Regions from separate parts of the Homo sapiens genome. Here region 1 is linked to region 2. The links are contacts of gene promoters, found by promoter capture Hi-C in human tissues and cell types (Jung and others, 2019). All regions are on one chromosome and are shown on one strand. Each heading gives the region's core, a stretch centred on a gene start or on the middle of the fragment in contact. The rest is flanking DNA. Distances are from core to core; before and after follow the strand shown. Region 1 holds the start of LOC101929348 (a long non-coding RNA gene). Region 2 holds the start of SNAP25 (synaptosome associated protein 25).

Evidence for each region. The method cuts DNA at HindIII sites, captures the fragments that hold promoters and counts their contacts. A contact is called where the count stands out against the background at its distance.
Region 1: a contact is called between a fragment that was not itself captured here and the fragment with the promoter of SNAP25 in region 2, in 2 of the 25 tissues and cell types used here (dorsolateral prefrontal cortex and hippocampus).

What each region holds. Positions count from the first base shown.
Region 1 is chr20:9,616,029-9,620,356 of GRCh38, forward strand. The region is part of intron 3 of PAK5 (p21 (RAC1) activated kinase 5); the gene reads right to left. LOC101929348 (a long non-coding RNA gene) reads left to right here and starts at 3,979. Exons shown (of 3, transcript XR_244242.4): 1 at 3,979-4,063. RefSeq lists an enhancer at 404-593. The HindIII fragment of the contact is 7,662 bases long and covers 1-4,328 here.
Region 2 is chr20:10,217,051-10,220,967 of GRCh38, forward strand. SNAP25 (synaptosome associated protein 25) reads left to right here and starts at 1,780. Exons shown (of 8, transcript NM_130811.4): 1 at 1,780-1,927. It overlaps SNAP25-AS1 (SNAP25 antisense RNA 1), which reads right to left and starts at 2,456. Exons shown (of 5, transcript NR_040710.1): 1 at 2,187-2,456. The HindIII fragment of the contact is 5,357 bases long and covers 1-3,917 here.

The sequences.
Region 1 (4,328 bases), core at 1,741-4,240, 600 kb before region 2:
TTACAAGAGAATCAGGAGCCAGTCCCACGTCAAGGGGAGGGAAGGTAGACACCACCTCTGATGGGAAGCATGTCAAAGACACTGTGGCTAATTTTTAAAATAAAGCAATGTTGAAACTACACTCCATTGTACTTCTACCTGGAAGCAGGGGATGGGTAGAAATGAAATTAATATTTATCACTATGAACCATGCATGATGTCAAATACAGTACACATGTTAGCCCACAACAACTTCCTGAATTAAAAAGGGCAGTTCCTATATTACAGATGAGGAACTGAAAGCACAGAGAGTTTCAGGTGCTCCTCAAATTACGCCAGTAGCGAGTAGCAGATTCTAATGTCAACGCCAGATGTGCCCAATGTTCATCCTTCCAGACTATTTTATGCTGCTGGAAACACGGCAAAGACAAGTAGCATGTTGGGAAGGGAATCAGCGTTCTCTTCGGCTAAAGCCTTTGTGTTCTCTATGGTAGGGTTTCTCAAACTTTAACACATATATACATCCCCCGGGCATCTTGCGAAAATAGATTCTCATCCTTCAGGGCTGGGCTGGGGACTGAGATTCCACATCTAACAAGCTCCCAGGGGATGCTGCTGCTGCTAGCCTGTGGCTTGCACTGTGGGATGTGGGGCTCTATGGCACAGCAGGGTGATAATACACTGGGGTGCAGTGCCCAGACAAGGCCCAGAGAGCCAAGCAAAGCATGCGTCCTTCCTTAGGGGCCTGATAACCTTCCCTATTCTGGGGGCAGTGAGAGTCTAAGGATAGAAGTCCAGGGGTGGGTAGTGGGTGGAATGTGGTTGAATTCCTTGGCAGTCTGTCCCACAATGCCAGTAGGCATAGGAAGAAGTTAGAAATTGCCATTTTCTTCTGGGAAAATCTTTTTGTTTATTCTTTCACTTTGGTTTTTCTGGAGTTGTACAAAAATACGGATAATTGCAAAAAGCTGGACTATTGCAATTGTGTGTGATTCAGACAGAATAAGCCTGAGAGGCATAACTGAGTCCAGAAAAATGCCAAGTCATAAATCAAAAGTGAGATCAAACTAATTATTCCAAGTGAGTCGATGGCACAACACTTGTTTATCTCAATACATAATCGGCTTCACTAATTAAAATGCAAATTCGATTGCATTTATAACTGGTAACCCTGCCAAGTTAAAGCTTCAATACATCTGATGTGTGAGCTGTACGAACTTTTCAGGGACACTAGGTGGCGCCCGTGTACTTTTCTTGAGAAAGCCAGGCTGCTTTAACCATTTAAAATTTCAATCAGTGGAAAGAAACGAGTTAGCCCAGTGGTTCTCAAAGACATTGAGTCAAAACTCTGGGGATTGGGCCCCAGATCTGTACGGTAAGTAATTCTTCCCAGACGATTTTATTTTTATACCAGTTGGTTAATGTAATGACATTGGAAACAGCTAGCACAGTTAAGCGCTTAATTGCTTAATTGTAATATGATAAAACTGAGGCTGAGAGACTTACTCAATTTGCAGGGATGAGACCCAAGAATCCCAATCCTTTTTTTTTTTTTTTTTTTTTTTTGAAATGGAGTCTCGCTCTGTCACCCAGGCTGGAGTGCAGTGGTGCGATCTCGGCTCACTGCAAGCTCCACCTCTTAGGTTCGCGCCATTCTTCCGCCTCAGCCTCCCGAGTAGCTGGGACTACAGGCGCCCACCACCACGGCCGGCTGATTTTTTGTATTTTTAGTAGAGACGGGGTTTCACCGTGTTAGCCAGGATGGTCTCGATCTCCTGACCTCGTGATCCACCCGCCTCGGCCTCCCAAAGTGCTAGGATTACAGGCGTGAGCCACGACGCCCGGCAAGAATCCCAATTCTTATCTGAACAGCTCTTCTACCAAAGCACGAAAAATAAAAAAAGTGGAAGTTTACATGAGGTTTGTTGTCAAAGCATCAAAGATACCTTTAAGCCTCTAAATTGTGTCCTGAAATTGAAGATACATCTCAGAAGAAAAGGTCGAACCTATCAAAAGAAACGCTACAACGAATTAACATTCAGTGGAGGTAATATTAGTATAAGGAAAAATAAACATTATGTAAGCATGTGACAAATAGGCTTGTAATGTGGCTCTCACACAACTAGATGACAGCATACTCCAAGGAACATACAGCGCTGGGCGACACTATCAAGGGAGAAGGAACAGCTCTAGGAAGTGCCAGAACATACAGTAAATACTACATAACTCCAAAGAGTCAGGTACCCCCCCAAGTTTTAACCCCTCTAAATTATAATCAAATTGATAAAACATAGCTCCACTCCATGTGGCTACAGAGTTTTCTGTTAAGATCCCCTGCCCAGTGTTATTGCTGAGACATATGTTGATACACAGGACAGACTATTACGGCCTGGAACTTTTTTTTTTTTTTTTTTTTTGAGACAGAGTCTCGCTCTGTCACCCAGGCTGGAGTGTAATGGCACAATCTTGGCTCACTGCAACCTCTGCTTCCCGAGTTCAAGTAATTTTCCTGCCACAGCCTCCCGAGTAGCTGAGATTGCAGGCATGTGCCACCAGGCCCAGCTAATTTTTTTTTTTTTGTATTTTTAGTAGAGATGGGGTTTCACCATGTTGTCCAGGCTGGTCTTGAACTCCTGACCTCGTGATCCACCCACCTTGGCCTCCCAAAGTGCTGGGATTACAGGCGTGAGCCACTGCGCCCGGCTGGAACTTATTTTTAATTCAATCATCAAATCTTTATTGAGCAGGGTGACAGGTACAGTTCTATAAGTACAAGCAACTTAAGGAAAAGCTGAGATGAATCGATATTTTCATAACATATCATATGTTTCAGGACTGGAGGTTTTAAGAGGAAGAAAGGAAGGTAGAAAGTGGCTTCTCTCAGATTCTTTTCTCTCTCTTTCTTTCGTTTTTTTTTTTTTTTTTTTTTTTTTTTTTTTTTTAATCTCACTGTTGCCCAGGCTGGAGTGCAGTGATGGGATCATGGCTCACGGAAGCCTTGACCTCTTTGGCTCAAGTGATCTTCCCACCTCAGCCTCCTGAGTAGCTGGGACTACAGGTGTGTACCACCACAACTAGATAATTTTTGTATTTTTAGTAGAAACAGGGTTTCGCCTTGTTGCCCAGCCTGGTCTGGAACTCCTGGGTTCAAATGATCTGCCTGCCTCAGCCTCCCAAAGTGCTGGGATTACAAGTGTGAGCCACTGTGCCTGGCCAGATCCTATTGTTTACTGTTGTTTTACTTTAGGTAGACCAGAGAAAATAGAAACAAAGAAAGTTTGGAAGAAAAAAGCCATGACTGCTTTTGATCTCAGGAAACTTAGCTATTATCTAGGACATGGCAAGATAAAACTGAAAAACAATTCTATTCCTTCCACGCTTCTCTTTGAAGGAGACACACTTGGCAACCCTGGCCACACTTCTCTTACCCCTTTTCACTGCCCAATACTCTCATTTCTCAGACACCAAATCCCTAACAAACTTCTCAACTCCCAGTTCTTCCTGGCTTTTTCTCCTGCCCTGTCTGCTGTGTTCAGGTCCCTTTTAAGGGTGCCGTTGGATAAATATTTGAACATTCCTAAAGATGAGGAGCTCGCCTTTCCAAGGCAGCCCCTTGCATTGCTGGATAACACATTTCCAAGTCTTGCCCTATTGAGGTAAAGTACTGGAGTCTCTCCGTGCTGCCTTCACTTACCTCTTCCTATTTTTCCTTCCAGGGGATTCCTAGAGGTTATTAATTCCCCTGCTGTGGGACAGTCATTCAATGTTTGAAGAAAGTAATTGTTTACTTCCCTCCCTTGATTCTTTGACAGAAGATCACCAGGGCTCTCAACCAATCATCAGTGCTCTCAACCAATCATCAGTGCTCTCAGACAATCATCAGTGCTCTCAGCCAATCATTAGTGCTCTCAGCCAATCATCAGTACTCTCAGCCAATCATCAGATCACCTGAATTCTAGATTTTCCATCATCTCAGCCACCTTTTTTCACATGCAACTTGTTAAACGTTGTCCAAGGATGAGATGGAATGAAATGGACACCTTTAGTGTACAGATAACATGGACGGAAGTTCTGTTGTAACAAGGTGGGTACAGAAAGTGAGGGCAGAAATATGAATCAGCAACACTGCCCTCCACCACAGCCTTTATTTGCCCATTCACAACACTCTGTAATTAGAGCTAGATCACATGGACAATTATTTCCCCTTTGGAGTAAACATTCCTAGAAGGAAGGACTCATCCCTGATTTATTCAATGTTGTGTCCTCAGCACTGGGCTTGGTATTTGGCTGGCATTTGTTGAAACAAAGATCCTAAAAGGGAACAATGAAAATTTGAATTCAGGTCTCTT
Region 2 (3,917 bases), core at 530-3,029:
CAAACACTGTTAATTATTATGGCAAAAACATCAATACGTCAAAAAAAAGCCTTCAGGCCAGGGAATCTTTAAGAAACAATTATGTCTACTAATTTCGATTAAAGGTATCCTTTATTAAATTCTTAACAACCCGTCTCTTTCTAAACGCAGCGCCTTCACAACTCTTCTTCCCTTCCCCCTACCCCGCTTCCCTCCCTCCGCAATGGAGCGCAATCAAAGGCCGTATTATTGCCTAAGCTTGGCTCTCAGGCCAGCTAGGGATGTGTGTGTGTGTGTGTGTGTGTGTGTGTGTGTGTGTGTGGTGGGGCGGGGGTGGGGGGCGAGGGTGCAAGGGGAGAGGTTGTACGCCGCTTTTCCGAACCCAGCTCTAAATGGTTTCTCCTAAGCGAGACAAGGATTTTCCATAGCCTAAAAGAGGCCATCAAGTTTTAACATTGCGAGGCACGACTTCTAATCGCATCCTTCCCGGAAAAGTACAAACAGTTCCTCAGACGAGGTCCCCCACCTCCCACGCGCTCCCCAGCCCTCCCTCCCTGCGGAGAGCCCCGCGACAGCCTCCCCAACACCTGTGAATCATCCGGGAGGCTGCCACCGCCGAGCGATCCGCGCACCACCCCCTTCCCGGGCCCGGGCACGGCCAGGGAGGACAGTTAGGGTTGTTGCTTTATAATTATCACTTTTAATCTCTAATACGACCAGCACAAGTAGCCTTTGTCTCCCCGCCCTGATTTGAGCATCCGAGGGCCCCCCGAGGCAGCCTGCACGGGTACCCCGGGGTTTGCGCACTGAGTGAACCCCCAGATTCGGCCGTGTCCCAGCCGTCCTTGCTCTGAATCCCCCACCTCCTCCCGGCCGTTTGGACGGTTCCCTCGGGGCGTCTGTGCCTCCGTGGGGTACCCCTAAGACACCCAGCATGAAACCCCAGCACCGACTGCAAATTCCACCGAAAGCAGAGTCATCCGTTTTTGCCCTCGGCAAACAACTCAACTTCAAGCCTCGAGTCCTTGCAAACCCACGCTGGCTGGGCTAACTCCGCTTCCCTTCTCCTTCCCCCGACTCCTGCAACAGCTCAGAGAGCCTGGCTCTGACGTAGTTCAAAATAACGTGCGCCAGCCTCGCTGCCCGGCTGACCACAGCAACGAGAGCCACAAGCCCTCGACGCTGCTTCGATAACATGAAGCAATCACTCATAAAAATAGCAACCCACGTAGCCTGGCCATATATGGAGCTGGCGAGGGTGGACGGGGATGCCCCTACGGACCCTCTTCGGAGAAAACAAATCGCCGCTGAAATTTCCCCCACCCCTCCCATCACTACCTTTTACCCCTCCTCTGCCTTCCCCTCTCCTTAGATGACTCAACCACAGATTCCACTGAAAGGGGGTGGGGGTGGGGGTGGGGGGGAATATATACACATACACACAAATTATACATATATTATACATGTATTATAAAATATACACACACATACATATATACATACACACACATATACACATATGTACACACACACGCACACACACCAAAGAACATCAGGAATGCAGTTGCGGGATGAACGCGTTTGCCCAAGACCGAGTGTTAAAATGGAGTCATAAGAGTCGCCCCGTGCGGGTGTTTATAGAAGGTGAAAACACGCAGGTTTGCAGGCCAGCGCACTGGGAACCGAGTCAAGCGCGCCGCAGCCCGGGCCCCGCCCCCGCCCCCGCCGTGCCCCGCCCCCACTTCCTCCCGCCCCTCGCTGGGCGGCTATTAAAAGCTGCTGACGTCAAAACGGACGGCCATCTTTGATGAGGGCAGAGCTCACGTTGCATTGAAGACGAAACCTCGGGGAGGTCAGGCGCTGTCTTTCCTTCCCTCCCTGCTCGGCGGCTCCACCACAGTTGCAACCTGCAGAGGCCCGGAGAACACAACCCTCCCGAGAAGCCCAGGTAAGAACCCCCCTCCCCAGGTCGTGGCTCTGGCTCGGGATGGCTGCATACCCAGAAGGGACAGCAGCTGGGCAGTCCGAGTGGGCTTGGGTAAATACAAGTATTGGTGCACTTAGGGTGCGGTATTCCGTGTGTGCACGTCTGGTGGGGGCTTTATAAAGTGTTTTCGAGGTGAGCTGCTGGGGAAAAGGGAAACGGGAGCCCTGCAAATGGAGCGACGGGGAGGAAGAGCGAGGGTACGTACCGAATAATAACTTACTCTTTTGAAACAGTAGTGGGACCCCCTCTTTCTTCCATTTTGCGATGCAGTTTTCAGAGATATTTAGGCTGTTGAGTTTTCCTCCCCTGTCGTTCTAACCCTATTATTATGACTGTTGTCGTTAGGGTGCTATTATCCAGGGAAGAATTAAGGGGGAGACAGGGTGTGGGTGCTGGGGAGGCGAAAGGAGAAAGGGGGAGTTCCCGCCCCGGGCAAGCTGAGCTGCTGCAGCGACAGCAGCCTCCATGCCCCGCGGACTTGATTTATGCCGCCTGCTCCACGTCAACTGCAGGCTGGCGGGAGGCGGGCGGGTCGTGCCGGGTGGGAGGGCTCTGCGGAGGGCTGGCGCGGGTGGGCTGGCTTCGGGGACTGCGGCGGCCCGCGCTCAGCACCCTGGATAGCAACACCGAGGGCTCGCGCGGGCGCCCTCGACCTTTCAGCACCGGGGACAGCGGTCCGGCCGCAGCGCCTCATCTGCCTGCGGCAGAAATGCCTGGCCGGGGCTGGATGTGCCAGGGCTGGAGACCAAATTGTCTCCCTGAGACCCCGGTCTTACGGAGACCCTTAATAGAGGAGTCATAGTAGCTTAAAAGAAAACAAGAAAGAAATAAATCTTCCTCACAGAGACTCCTTTGCAGACAATTTCCTGTTCCCCTCCTCACCTCCTGCATAGCTTCAACAAAATAGTCTACTTGTGGAAATCTTCTGTGTTGCCCTCTGACCCTTATTTTACGTAGAAAATAAATACATTTTTTAAAAAATATGGATTTATCCTCCAGCAGGGTATCAAGGTTTTTGTTTGGTTTTGTTTTTTAACACAGAGTAGATCTGTCTACAGATCTTGGGTGAGCATAAGTACTGTATATATGAAGAAGCCAATGCTATCTGTTTATAGGGATGATACATCTCTCTCTATGTTTCCATTTGATAAAAATGTGAGATTAGCTGAACTAAGCAGAATCAACTTTAAGAATGAATCACTCTTCCTTTTCCTTCTTCCCCCATCCTTGCAATCAGGCATGAATACAAGCATTCATCCACAAAAACACATATCTGAGAAATTTTACTGGTCCTGTACTGAATAGATTTAACCTCTTTGGCCACGGTTTCAGAGTTACTGGAAGTATTTGCTATCAGCACTGGTTATCGCAGGCTGATAGCTTTAGATTTTGACAATATTAAGACTGGCCTTCCTCAGGAGAATCCAAGTGTGTCCTTCAGGGTAATGCAGGTAAAGAACCATGGTGTTAAACTAGAACTTAACTCTGACCTAAAGGTCTACTGCAATTTCTCTTATGGCACTGCGGGATTTTGCTGAGGTGGTAATAACTACTTTAACCATTTTCTACTCTGAGGCTTGGAGCATCTGAGAGAGCAAAAGTCATCAGGGGTATTTCTCTCTGTTTGATGTAGATAAAACTGGCATAAAAATGACCAGAGTCAAAATTATGCCATTTGAGTCATTAGCAAAAAAGAGTAACAGCGTCATATGTAATAATCTATACAATGCATTAAAGAAACGCTATCATGATCCCCTTAAAAGACCCCAAATGAGAACTTGGATTGTGTTTAGATAGTCATACCTCCTATCATCTGTATGCTACAGACACTAAAATTCCCTGTCCATATACAGAAGGTAATTTCATTCGCTGCTATTTAATTATTTCCTAGTGTTTTTTCTTTTTATAGATGACCATGTGTTTCCATGTATGTATATGTTGATCTGTTATT